Linked DNA regions of Homo sapiens: region 1 is linked to region 2. Evidence: promoter capture Hi-C in 16 types of primary human blood cells and fetal thymus (Javierre and others, 2016). All regions are on one chromosome and are shown on one strand. The core of a region is centred on a gene start or on the middle of the fragment in contact, and the rest is flanking DNA. Distances in the headings are between cores, read along the strand shown.

What was found. The method cuts DNA at HindIII sites, captures the fragments that hold promoters and counts their contacts. A CHiCAGO score of 5 or more calls a contact.
Region 1: a contact is called between a fragment that was not itself captured here and the fragment with the promoter of TOP3A in region 2, in 1 of 17 cell types (erythroblasts). The highest score is 5.6, in erythroblasts.

The regions. Positions count from the first base shown.
Region 1 is chr17:16,537,249-16,544,509 of GRCh38, forward strand. LOC105371554 (a long non-coding RNA gene) reads left to right here. Exons shown (of 4, transcript XR_007065637.1): 2 at 598-750; 3 at 2,449-2,540; 4 at 3,405-6,838. Among named protein-coding and RNA genes, the nearest start is that of ZNF287, 28 kb to the right of the region's middle. The HindIII fragment of the contact is 2,009 bases long and covers 3,693-5,701 here.
Region 2 is chr17:18,309,557-18,316,484 of GRCh38, forward strand. It overlaps TOP3A (DNA topoisomerase III alpha), which reads right to left and starts at 5,438. Exons shown (of 19, transcript NM_004618.5): 1 at 5,043-5,438. The coding sequence starts at 5,222. It overlaps SMCR8 (SMCR8-C9orf72 complex subunit), which reads left to right and starts at 5,737. Exons shown (of 2, transcript NM_144775.3): 1 at 5,737-6,928. The coding sequence starts at 6,234. It also overlaps the pseudogene RPL7AP65 and the pseudogene RPL21P121. RefSeq lists enhancers at 4,487-5,010, 4,958-5,047, 5,058-5,407, 5,535-6,058, 5,748-5,797 and a silencer at 5,558-5,607. The HindIII fragment of the contact is 5,874 bases long and covers 2,701-6,928 here.

The sequences.
Region 1 (7,261 bases), core at 3,447-5,946, 1.8 Mb before region 2:
GCTTAGTAAATAGACCTAGACCCCACCCCATGGTGTAGAAGCAGTTGGTGAACTTCTATAAAGGGCCAGACAGTACACATTTTAGGCTCTGCGATCTCCTTATGGTTGAAAGTTCTACTGTTGTAGCACAAAATCAGCCTTGGACAGTAAGCAAATAGGTGTGGCTGTGTTCCAACAAAACTTCACTGAAATTTGAATTTCACTGTAATTTTCACGTGTCACGAAATATTTTAACCGTTTAAAAATGTAAAAATAATGTGTGTGTGTGTGCGCGCGCGTGTTAGCTTGGGCCGCCAGCTAGCAGTAGTTTGCCAATTCTTGGTAGAGAAAGAGAGCAGTCTCCACCTAGGTCTGGGAATTCAGGGAGAGAGGTGCTGGCCAAAATAACAGTTCATGGCCTGCTTTTCTAGATCTGGGAGTGAGTAGGACTACTACTAGACTCTCATTTGACCTCTCCTTTGGGAATCGCAGGGTATATAGTGCCCACTGATTGGTGGGAATTTTGTCAAGGTGGGTGTGATAATCTGGCTTCTTTCCCTTCCCAGCTCTTTATAGTCTTTCTTTCTTTTTTATCGTTCTCTCCCTCTCTCTCTTTAGAGATGTGGTCTTGCTATGTTGCCCGGGCTGAGTGCAGTGACTATTCACAGGCCGGATCTAGTGCACTGCAGTCTTGAACTCCTGGCTTACAGTCCTGCTGGTTCTGAGAGGCAGGGGAAGAAACGGCCACCATGCTCTGCAGCTAGGTCTCAGGTAGGTTTGGGCCATCTCTCTTCTCTGGTTTCTAGGCACATCTCAACTCAGGATGCACCTTTCCAGGGAGAGGTGCATCCTGAGTTGAGGTAAGTATTCATCCTGGTTGCAAGATGAATACTTTTCATTCTTCCACTACACAGTCATTTTAAAGTTAAGTTTCATCTATGATGGGTATTCTGGGTCCTAGAAGAGAGGTGGTACCTGGGTCAGTCCCTTTCCAGTCTGCAGTCTAACACATACAGATTAAATGAATGTGAAAATAAAAAAATGCTTTGTAATTACAAAGCACTCTGCAAATACAAATGTTGCAGTAAAGAAAAAAAGTATGGTTGACATCTTTCTTTATTCTAGAAAGTGCAAATCTATCTTTTTTGAATACTTAGCACTTCTCTGAACTACTGTATCTTGCCAGCACTTTGCACAGTGCATATTAGAATAACACATTCAGTCAATATTTATTGAGTGCCTACTTGCCTATTATGCATCTCTTAGTGCCTTTCTGGTTTTTATTTTTATTTTTATTTTTTTGAGACTCAGTCTCACTGTGTCACCCCAGGCTGGAGTGCGGTGGCGTGATCTCGGCTCACTGCAACCTCCTCCTCCTGGGTTCAAGTGATTCTCCTGCCTCAGCCTTCCGAGTAGCTAGCACTACAGGCACGTGTGCCACCATGTCCGGCTAATTTTTTGTATTTTAGTAGAGACGGGGTTTCACCGTGTTGGCCAGGATGGTCTCGATCTCCTGACCTCGTGATCCGCCCACCTCGGCCTCCCAAAGTGCTGGGATTACAGGCGTGAGCCACGGTGCCTGGCCATGTTCTGCATTTCACCCAACCACAGATTGGAAATATTGAGCAGAAAACCCTCAAAATAATGCAATAGAAAATGTAAAACTATCTACATGGTATTTACATTGTATTAGGTATTATAAGTAATCTAGAGATGATTTAAAGTATTTGGGAGAATGTACATCAGTTATATGCAAATACTATGCCATTTTTATATCAGCTACTTGAGCATCCAAGGATTTTGGTATCCATGGGAGTCCTAGAACCAATCCTGGAACCAATAATGAGGGATGACTCTAATGTAAAATATAGTGCTCAGCATGAATATTCCAGGTATAGTTTAAAATCAGTTTACAGTGGAGAGCATTACTTTTCAATTTCTGGATGCAGATCTTATTTTGATATGGCCCAAAATTGTTCTTCAAGAAAAAACCTCTACTCTTGTAGGCATGAAACAGCCAACTTTCTTGTAAGACCAATAGGACTAAAATGATTATTGGTGAATAAGAGAGTGGCTCCTAGCTCCCCTGTCAAAGTTATAATAAATTTAGAAAGAAGAGGTTTGGGGATGAAAACAATTTAGTTTTAGGTTAAACCACATAAGGTACTTATGAGATAGTTCTGAGTGATCACTGACTATATGGCTTTGAAACTTGGGATAGATCTGAGTGAAAAATTGGTAGGAGGAGGTGCATCCTGAATTGAGATGTTCTCATTTAAACATTTGAATTTAAGAAACTGTATGGGAGGGGGACCTCTTTTGGCTTTGGAGCCTCCCACCACCCCCGTCTCTGTACAAGGGAGGTGCTTATTTCTTCCTTCTCCCTTCTTTCTTTCCTCTTCTTGCCTATTAAACTATCTGCCCCTTAAAACCACTCCACATATGTCCATGTTGTTTTATCTAAACCAGCATGAGGACCAAGAACCCTGGTGTTCCTCCACTCATCGGAGCCGTATCATTTTGGTGCATTGGCCAGGAAAGGAAATTCAATCATGAGACTGGTGAGTATGGAGCGGATTTCAACTTTATATCTGTTCTTTAGTCTCAAGGCTCTCTTCCAGCTACCCTGTCGCCAAAACTTTCTTTCTATCTGTGGTCTCTCTGTGTGTCTAATGTGCAGGATTCTGTCTGTTAGAAAAGATCGTGAATCACGGCATGCAGTAACTCAATAAGTGTCTCTCTCTCTCTCTACGTTTTCTCTGGCAAGCACATGGTATTTCTAAGCCACCTAGTAGAAATCAGGCTGTAGGCCTCTTCTAAGAATGGGAAGTTTCTGCTTTTAACAGTTAGGAGTAGGATGTCTTCCATGGCCAAATTTTAGTCTCAATATTGTCCCACTGGCAGGAAAACGGCCATTCAGTTCCTATGTTCCTTTAAGCCATCTATTCTGGCTCCTACTAAGACAGTGCTTAATTAGTAAGGGGATTTTAAGTCCAGAAGTTAACCGGAACCATTCTTCTATGGGTAAATGCTTTAGCATGGGCTATAATGGCAGGATATAGAGTTCAATCTATCACATCCCCTCCCTTAAAGGGTCTCTTCCCAATTACATGGTTTTTCTTCAAATCCATTTTTTGGGAGGCACACAGGCCACCCAAGTCTAGGAGGTCAAAGGTAAATAAAAGGCAGAGAACTGATTGCTTGGGAACAGCGTGACTATGGCCCAAAACTCAGATCCTCTGGTGCCATGGCTTGGAGGGTCACACCTGCAGTCATGGGTGGAACATTTAAATGAGTGCTGGGAATCCAGGAACAAAAGAGAAAATAGTTGGGGGACGCCTCCTACTGCTTTCTTCTCCATCCTGGATTTCATACCAAAAGGAAGGAGACTAAAAGGACGCTTTTATTCTCACTTCTCTTTCTAGATGGGTAACAGACCATCTTCAACATGCACTTCTCTTGAGTGTATTTTGAAGCACTAGGACTCTTTCGACCTTGAAACTTTGAAGAAAAAGTGGCTTATTTTCTTTTGCAGTCATATCAGGCAGGCCCAGGGAAAACAGTACCCCAAAATTTAAAAAGTAACTTTCAGGGAAGTCATCTGAGGGTCCCCCTTATTTGGGGCCCCTTCAAGTTCCCTTCTCATTGCAGGACCTTTGGCAAGTAAAGGGAGACTTAGGCTGGTTTTCTGATGACCTTAATAAGTATATGGAAGCTTTCCAATATTTAACTCAGGTATGTAACCTCTCATGAAGGGATGTTATGTTGCTGCTAAGGCAAACCCTTACTGTAGGTAAAATAAGCAGCTCTGCAAGCAGAAGAAAATTTTGGAGATAAGTAATGTCTCCTATAGAAGGCCAAAAGGGAAAAGAAAAAAATAGGGAAGGCAAAGGGGAAACACCATTCCCAATAGGAAAAGAGGCAATACCTCCTGACAACCCTAATTGGAACTCCTTTCTGTGGTGTTTTTCCTTGTTTTGCAGTTTAAAATGGCTTCTCTTTTATAATGTTCTTCCAACATGGAAAAGGTTAATTTTCCAAACCTTAAAATGTTTGGCATAGAGTTGAGCTAGGGGGAAGGAAACCCAGCCCAGAAGCCTGATATGCTGGCAAAAGGGTAAAAATTTCTTACCAGTCAGGCTTTTGGCTTCTCTCTTCCTGTGGAAACCGGCAAAAGGGATAATAAAGATCATTGTTTATGTTTTCTTTAAATTTATAGTTAATGAAAAAGGATTTGTGAGGTTGGTCTTAAGCTGTAAACAATCTGCTCTTCTTTGTATGTCTTTCTGTGTGGTTCTGTTAAAGAAAAGGTATCTTAGGTCAGGATGCAGGCCCAGAAACCCATAAGCCTGCTGTTCAAACCAGCCCAGCAAAGTATCCAGTGGCAAACTTGGCTACAGGCCTCCATCTTGTTTCATGTCATGGGAACATAATCTGTAACCATGTGGCAATACTTTGTTTTTGTCTCCGCCATTTTACAATGGTGGCTGTCTTCTTGTGCTAAATCAGATAAGCCAGTTTGTCAGTCTGGGCTGTGTCAGCTGATCCATCAAGGGCAGGGTTTACAAAACATCTTAAGCACTGATCATAACAGCCGTTTAGGGAGGGTCAAAATCTTGTAGCCTCCAATTGCATGGCTCTTGGGCCATGGTTTCTAATCCTGTAGCTAGTTTCTTGGTCTGGTCCCCAGGCAAAAGGGAAGTATATCTTGAGAAGCAGCTGCTATCTTCTTTGTTTTAGACTATAAACTGTAAACCAAGCTCCTCCCCAACTTGATTCAGCCTATGCCCGGGGATGGGCAAGGACAGTTTGGGGACTGGAAACAAAATGGAGTTGTTTGGGTGAGATCTCTTCCACTGTCTCAGTCACAATTTTGCAGTGACAGTTTCAAAAGCTGCCTGTCCGGGTGGATCACGAGGTCAGGAGTTCAAGACCAGCCTAGTCAACATGACGAAACCCTGTCTCTACTAAAAAAACAAAAATTAGCCAGGCGTGGTGGCATGCACCTGTAGTCCTGGCTACTCAGGAAGCTGAGGCAGAGGAATTGCTTGAACCCAGGAGGCAGAGGTTGCAGTGAGCCAAGATCATGCTACTGCACTCCAGCCTGGGTGACAGAGCAAGACTCTGTCTCAGCAAAAAAAAAAAAAAAAAAAAAAAGCTGCCTGTCACTCCTTTAAAAATACCTTTTACACTCCTGGTTAAGTCATAACCTAATTAAAGCTCTTTAGTTTTACCTGTGAGGTTACTTATTGTAAAGTTCAAAAGCCAAAAATCTTAACTGCTTGGCATGGCTAAGGTCAAGTAACAAAGGATTTAGAAGAATTTTCTTAAAGAGTGCTCAGCTTAATTAAAAGTGGAAAATCAAGTTATAGGTATATTAAAAGGCCTTTATGTTTTTTCTTTTCTTGAATCTTGTTTTTCTGGAAAAAGGCTCATCTCAGCCGACTGAATTATTTTTCTCCATTTTTTGTCTTACTACTCTTAATGCATGTATAAAAGGCCCTAAGATAACTTCTGGTAGCATGGGACTCCTCAGGAAACACAGAGGAGGCGCCACAGACCCCGTTTTGGGAAAAAACCCTCTGTTTTCCTCATGAAACCCCAGGAATTAAAAGCAAATAATTCCCTCTCAAAATCAAAGGCTCTGTTCTGTTTTGCATTGTGTTATCTGATGGTTTTGAGTTTTGGGGGTATCAGAAATTACTTCGCATTTTTACAAGAAAGCTTTGGTGTGTAATAATCAAGTAGAAAATACACTGTAAGGGATGGCTAATAGTAGTTATAAATCAGGGATGCTCTTGGCCACCTGGAAGATAAGGAAACATCCTCACCCTGCACTGGGAGATGAGACTCCCATCAGGGATGGGCTAATTACAAAATAAGCCAATTGGCTTTGGGCTGCCTTGCAATGCAATGCATGGTAGAAGCACTACACCGTCCTCTCCCATAGTATCTATATGGTCTTTTCATAAATTAAGCATTAAAATAAAAGCATAGCAAGGAGGTCTTAAGACACTAATCTGCCCCTTAGTAAAAGGGTTATAAAAGGTTTGTAAAGATTTCACCTTGGCCGGGTGCGGTGGCTCACACCTGTAACCCCAGCACTTTGGGAGGCCGAGGCGGGCAGATCACCTGAGGTCGGGAGTTCGAGACCAGGCTGACAAACATGGAGAAGCCCCGTTTCTACTAAAAATACAAAATTAGCCAGGGGTGGTGGCACATGCCTGTAATCCCAGCTACTTGGGAGGCTGAGGCAGGAGAATCGCTTGAACCTGGGAGGCGGAGGTTGCAGTGAGCTGAGATCATGCCCTTGCACTCTAGCCTGTGCAACAAGAATGAAACTCCATCTCAAAAAAAAAAGAAAAAAAAAGATTTCACCTCATGGTCAAATTGGTTAGGATTTGATGGAATAATCTATAAGGTTTCGTGTAAACAAATTGGGGTTAACATTAATAAACTAATGCAAGGGTAAAATTTTGCTTTGAACAAGATTTTCATTTCATAATAAAGGCTAATGAAAGGATTTTGCCTTTTGAGTCATCATTTTGGCAAAATAATTTATGGCAATCTGGAAATTGTCCTTCCTGATACCTAACTTTTTGAATGGTTTAGAGGGGCCCTGAAACATTCAGAAAAGAGGTAAACAGGATTATTTGACATGTTTAGTCACATGAGATTGCCAAAATGATGTCCAATCTTATTTAAGTTATAGTTTGGTGAATAATACTAATATATGTTTCAGAATTGTATGGGATTTCTAAGATTCTAATGTCTAAGTATATGCTATCAATCATAATTAAGGGTAAAGTTATTGTAAACCATGAAGATAAATAAACTTCTTTGTCAGTCATGTTTTTAACTATCCTGAAAATTTTGTCATTCACAGACAATTGTTGTCCTGCTTTGTTCCTTTTCAAAAAATGGTTTATAATCAAGCTCTATTAAGGAGTTCAACAGGTGTTCTCAAATGCAGGTTTTTAATAGCTTTAAAGATTGTAACATTGGAATAGAGAGAGAATGTATGGGACTCACAAAGAACTAATATGTTCATAAATATCAAGCAAAACAAGAGTTAAGTAAATGGACTGCACTCAGAAAGTTAAAGCAGAGTTTTTAACTTTGCTTGGAATATTGCTGATCCTTGTTTTGTTTTTCAGAGTCAAGAAAAGTTTTAAACTATTTATGGCCTTTAATAATTGAGTAAGGTATACTCCTGTGAACAAAATTTGGAGCATATTTATTTGTCTCTGCCTGGTTCCTCTAGAATTTGGAGACTAGCTGT
Region 2 (6,928 bases), core at 4,188-6,687:
TCACTTGAGCCCAGGAGGTGGACGTTGCAGTGAGTGGAGATGGCGCCACTGCACTCTAGCCTGGGTGACAGAGCGAGACTGTCTCAAAAAACAAAAAACAAACAAAAAAACACATTCAAACAAAAACTTGTACATGAAAGTCTATAGAAGTTCTTTTTTTTTTTTTTTTTTGAGATGGAGTCTGGCTCTGTCGCCCAGGCTGGAGTCCAGTGGCGTGATCTCGGCTCACTGCAAGCTCCACCTCCCGGGTTCACACCATTCTCCTGCCTCAGCCTCCCGAGTAGCTGGGACTACAGGCACCTGCCACCACGCCCGGCTAATTTTTTTGTATTTTTAGTAGAGATGGGGTTTCACCGTGTTAGCCAGAATGTTCTCAATCTCCTGACCTCGTGATCCACCTGCCTCGGCCTCCCAAAGTGCTGGGATTACAGGTGTGAGCCACCACGCCCAGCGAATGTCTATAGAAGTTCTATTCACAATAGTCAAAAGATGAAAACAACCCAAATGTCCATCAACTGATGTATGGTAAAATGAAATATGATCTATCCATATGATAGAATATTATTCAGCCATAAAAAGGAATGAAGAGGCCAGGTGCAATGGCTCATGCCTGTAATTCCAGCACTTTGGGAGGCTGAGGTGGGCGGATCATGAGGTCAGGAGTTTGAGACCAGCCTGGCCAACATAGTGAAACCCTGTCTCTACTAAAAATACAAAAAATTAGCTGGGCGTGGTGGTGGGTGCCTGTAATCCCAGCTACTTGGGAGGCTGAGGCAGGAGAATCGCTTGAACCTGGGAGGCGGTGGTTACAATGAGCCGAGATCTCATCACTGCACTCCAGCCTGAGCGACAGTGAGAGAGACTCCTTCTCAAAAACCAAAAAAAAGGAATGAAGAACTGATATTAATACATGGTACAACATGGATGGACTTCAAGATTATGTTAAGTGAAAGAAACCTGACACAAAAGAGCATGTAAGATATGGGTCCACTTATAGGAAATGCCCAGAACAGGCAAATCCATGGGGAAAGAAGGCAGATTCGTGGTTGTGAGGGGCTGAGGAGAGGGTAAGGGGAGTGACTGCTTAATGGATATGAGGCTTCCTCTTGGGGTGAAAAAAAACCTTCTGGAACTAGATAATGATGATGGTGGCACATTTAGTGGACAAAATTCCACTGAACTATATACTTCAAAATGATTAAAATGGTCAATTTTCTGTGCATTTTACCACTCAACCTACATGGCTCTCTAAGATTCTTATGATCTGCACTCAACTGCTGCTCTTGCTTAACTCATCGGTGTCTCTTCCCACCACACCACACCCCTAACTTCTCACTGTTTCTGAATATGCCAAGCAGTTTCAAGCCACTAGGTTGTTCTTTACAGTTTCTACTGCCTGGTAAAACTTTCAGGCTCAGCTCAAACATGCATTCAACAACTATGAATTTTTTTTTTTTTTTTTGAGACAGAGTCTCACTCTGTTGCCCAGGCTGGAGTGCAGTGGCACAATCTCGGCTCACTGCAAGCTCCACCTCCCGGGTTCATGCCATTCTGCTGCCTCAGCCTCCCGAGTAGCTGGGACTACAGGCGTCTGCCAGCATGCCCGGCTAATTTTTTGTATTTTTAGTAGAGACAGGGTTTCACCGTGTTAGCCAGGATGGTCTCAATCTCTTGACCTCATGATCCGCCCACCTCAGCCTCCCAGAGTGCTGGGATTACAGGTATGAGCCACCATGCCTGGCCTAATTTTTTTTTGAGATGGAGTCTCACTCTGTCGCCCAGGCTGTAATGTAATGGCGCAATCTAGGCTCACTGCAAGCTCCACTTCCCGGGTTGAAGCGATTCTCCTGCCTCAGCCTCGTGAGTAGCTGGGATTACAGGACCCCGCCACCACACCTGGCTAATTTTTGTATTTTTAGTAGAGATGGGGTTTTGCCATGTTGGCCAGGCTGGTCTTGAACTCACGACCTCAGGTGGTCTGCCCGCTTGAGCCTCCCCAACTGCTGGGATTACAGGCATGAGCCGCTGCGCTCAGCCCAAGTATTAATATTTATTGAAAGTTTCCTGCATTCCAGACACCATATTAGGCGTTAGGACATAGCAATTAACAAAATATAATCACTGTCCTTTGGAGTTTAGAGTCCAAGGAGAGGCAGTGACAAAAATCAAATAAATGATCGCACATCCCATTATTTAACTGTAACTAGTAGATGCCTTTCAAGTAGAATAGAGTGCTATGACAGCATGTCAGTAAGGGTCTCTGACCTAGTGTGGGGGAACAGGTGGTGAGGGAAGGATTCCTTGAAGATGAGACATTTCAGCAGCCTCTCTCCTCTAGCCGCCCCAGATGCCAAAAGGAAAGATGGCCAAGGGGAAGAAGTGGCCCTGGCCCCTGTTGTCATGGAGCAGCAGTAGGCCAAAAAGGTGGTAAATCCCATTTGAGAAAAGCCCTAATAATTTTGGCATTGGATATCTAGCCTAAGGGCCTCACCCACTTTGTCAAATAGTCCCGCTATAAATGGCTGCTGCGGCAGAGCCGCTGTACTCTATAAGTGGCTGATGTGCCACCTGGGATTGACCAGTTCACCCAGGCCTCAGACTACCAAACTTAAGCTACTCAATTGCTTAAGCTGGCCCACAGTACAGACAAGAGACAGAGCAAGGGATGAGATCGAAACCGTTGGCCCAGGCTGAGAAGAAAGCTTCCAGCAAAGGGGATGTCGCTACTAAGAGACCACCTACACTTCGAGCAGGGGTTGACACCGTCACCAACTTGGTAGAGAGCATGAAGGGTCAGCTGGTGGTGGATCCCATTGAGCTGGTTGTCTTCCTGCCTGTGCTGTGTCCTAAGATGGGGATTCTCTACTGCACCGTCAAGACTGTGGTGTCAAATTCCACAGGAAGACCTGCACCACTGTCACCTTCACAAAGGTTAACTTTCTGGTAGACAAAGGAGCTCTGGCTAAGCTGGTGGGACAAATTACAACGACATATGAGATCTGCTGTCACTGGGGAGGCAATGCCCTGGGTCCAAAATCTGTAGCTTGCATTACCAACCTAGAAAAGGCAAAGGCTAAAGAATTTGCCACTAAACTGGGTTAAGTACACACTGTTGTGTTTTCTGTACATAAAAATAAAAATTCTCTTTCCAAGAAAAGTCTTTCCTTTTGGCTGGAACTGCCATCTTGGAGTAATTTGCCAAAATGACGAACACAAAGGAAAAGAGGACGAGGCATCTGATGTATGTTCTCCTGGCCTTATAGAAAACATGGAGTTCGAGCTGGGCACGGTGGCTCACGCCTGTAACCCTAACACTTTGGGAGGCTAAGGCGGGTGGCTCACCTGAAGTCAGGAGTTCAAGACCATCCTGGCCAACACAGTGAAACTACTAAAAATACAAAAAATTAGCTGGGCATGGTGACAGGCACCTGTAATCCCAGCTACTAGGGAGGCTGAGGCAGGAGAATCGCTTGAACCCGGGAGGCGGAGGTTGCAGTGAGCTGAGATCACACCATTGCACTCCAGGCTGGGCAACAAGAGCAAAGCTCCATCTCAAAACAAACAAACAAAACAAAACAAAAATATGGAGTTTCTCTGGCCACAGACACCAGAATCTACAATGAAGGTGATATTGAGGACTTCGTGAGAATGCATACTGTTCAAAAGGGAATGACCCACAAATGTTACATGGCAGAACTGGAAAAGTCTATGTTACCCAGCATGCTGTTGGCACTGCTGCGAACAAGGGCTAGATTCTTGCCCAAAGAATTAATGTTTCTATTGAGCATATTAAGCACTCTAAGAACCAAGATCTTTCCTGAAATGTGTGAAGGAAAATGATCAAAAAAGAAGCAAGTCAAAGAGAAAGGGTTCACCTGAAGTGCCAGCCTGTTCCATTGAGGGAAGTACACTTTGTGAGAACCAATGGAAAAGAGCCTGAGCCGCTGGAACCTATTCCCTATGGATTCATGGTATGATAGGGTAAAAATAGATAAATACAAGACCTCTGGATTGCTTAAAAAAAAAAAAAAAAAAGGGAGAGAGAGAGAATGAATTCAGCAGAGCCTTGAAGGATAAGAAGTTAGGCGTAGGAGAACCATTTTTCAATGTCTACTTCATTGTCTAGAAGTAGACAAACCTTGGGGCTGGTCACCAGGACTTCTAGCACTGGAAACAGGTAAAGCTGTCAGCCAGCATTCACACAACCCTGGCTCCACTCCCACTATCCTTGATCTGGAAACAGGTCTTAGGACCCTGGGAACTAAAGAAAAATGAGCAGGGAACTTCCACCCATGCTCTTAGAAAAGTTCTCCAGAAAACCATTTCAGGATCTACTTTTGTTATCTGAGATATTTTCCTGGACAGCTCTTTATGTCTCCCGTGGCACCTCCTTTATGAAACTTTTTCTTATCCTCCCTTGCGTTTGTGCCTCCCGTGTGTGTAGAACACATTCTTACCACTTACCTCTCTCAGAATCAGTTCATTCGGGTAGGAACAGGGCTGACTTCAAATCTAATCCCCAAACCTTACCGTGTTGCTGTAAGTGTGCACTGTGAGGCTGGAAAGTCACAAGGGCTGTAGAATGCAGTGGCTGTGGCACAGGATGGGGAGGGCTAGGTTGGCTGGGGAACGATCGGGCAGGGCTTGAATGCCAAGTTAAGGGAATCTGGTCAGTAGTTCCCAAATGAATTTCTGAATCTCTAGGGAAAAACAGTAAAATACACACTTCCCCAGCCTCACACAAGACCCGAAGGGCAGCCAGCGCCCGAGGCGATTCCGAGAATCAGACAAGTTTGGGAACCTGCTAAGCGCAAGCAAAACAAAAGGTTTCCACGCAAATGAGTGAGATGTATCAACTACGTTTTAAAATGCACTCCAGTCCGAGAGCAGACAGGAGGCCACTGCAATAATCCAGACGAGGGGCAGTGAGGCCTGAGAAATGGGAGATAATCGCCTTCATCTCGATTCTTGGCGCCCACCACGCTGTCCCGCTCGGTGGGCCTCCCTTAAGGCACGCAGCTGATCGGAACGCGCTTTCTTACCCGCCTCATGCGACCGTTTGACAGCAGGTCGGCGATCCCCTTGGCCGCGTCGTTTTTTTCGGCCACACAGAGGACTTTCCGCACGCCTCGGAGGGCCATCTCCATGGCGGCGCGGGAAAAGGCACGGTCTTCGGGCCGTCGCAGCCACCGGAGCGCGTAGCGGGCGACAGGAAAGATCATCCTCAGACCTCGCGCCCGGAGCCGCTCCCCGGCTGCCGGCGCATCCTGGGGAAGCCAGAGATGAGGCTCAAATGGCGCCCACCGAAAGGGAACCAGAGCCTCGCTTCGGTCACGTCCCCACCAGCCTGCTGGCCTTTGGAGCTTCAGTCACTGAGCCTTTCCCGTGCCGCAGCCGCCGCCTCAGCACCGAATCCAGTATCTTGGCGTGGAACTTCCGCCCGCCTTCTCCAGCTACTTCCGCCAGGCGCGCGCCCCACAGCGACCTGGAACTACAACTCCCAGACTGTCCCGCGCCCCTCGTCCAAGCACGTTCCCCTCTGCCACCTTCCCGCCGCCCCCGTCTCACTCCGCCCCTCTTTCCCCTCCTTCCCGGCAGTGGTTGGTTAATCGGACTCCTTCTTGCGGGGAGCCGCCAGACACTCCCATCCAAGGCCTCTTTCTCATGACTTTTTAATCTCCTGCTCGGAAGTCTACGAGGACGCTTCCGGGTCACGCGGCGCGGACACCAGGAGTCATGTGATGTCAAGATGGCGGCGCCGCGGTAGCAGGATCCGGGTTGTGGCGTCCTAGGAGCCGCGACGGTTTCTGCCCTCGGGCAGTGAGGGGCAGCAGCGCTTGGCTGACCCCTGCGGCGTCCCGTAGCCTCGCGTTAAGCCTTGTTCAGAGCGGGGGCTTTTGCTGTCGCAGTGGGTTCCGGAGAGTGCAGGTGATTTCGCAGCAGGTTTCTTGTGCTGGCCGCGCTCGCCGGACGAAGAAGAGAAGGGCAGTTGGGCCTGCGGCCTTGGCGTTCATGAGGCCTCAGAGAGCTCCGGAGGAGCTACAACTGTGAGGGGGCTGCTAGAGTTCTTCTCCTCGGGTGTGTGAGAAGCAGCCTAGGACCCCGGGTTCGGGGAGTCGCAAAGAAGGCCGTAAGGGCTTCACTTCCTTCTCCGGAGGCCTGCCTTCTGCGCGTCGATTAACACCGCATTCTTTCCCACTTCCTCTCAATGTTTTCTTCATATATCTGGAAATATGATCAGCGCCCCTGACGTAGTGGCCTTCACCAAAGAGGAAGAGTATGAAGAAGAGCCTTACAATGAGCCGGCCCTGCCTGAGGAGTACTCGGTGCCGCTCTTCCCCTTCGCCAGTCAGGGTGCTAACCCCTGGTCAAAACTGTCCGGGGCCAAGTTTTCGAGGGACTTCATTCTTATTTCCGAGTTCTCTGAGCAGGTGGGACCCCAACCCTTACTGACCATCCCCAATGACACCAAAGTTTTTGGCACTTTTGATCTCAATTACTTCTCCCTGCGTATCATGTCTGTGGATTACCAGGCTTCCTTCGTGGGCCATCCTCCTGGATCTGCCTACCCCAAGCTGAACTTCGTGGAGGACTCCAAGGTGGTGCTGGGAGATTCTAAGGAGGGCGCCTTTGCATACGTGCACCACCTTACCCTATACGACCTGGAGGCCCGTGGCTTCGTGAGGCCGTTTTGCATGGCTTATATCTCTGCAGACCAGCATAAAATCATGCAGCAGTTCCAGGAGCTTTCAGCCGAATTTTCCAGAGCTTCTGAGTGCTTGAAGACTGGCAACAGGAAGGCATTTGCTGGGGAACTTGAAAAAAAGCTGAAAGACTTGGATTACACCAGGACAGTGCTACACACAGAAACGGAGATCCAGAAGAAAGCCAACGACAAAGGCTTTTACTCATCTCAGGCAATTGAGAA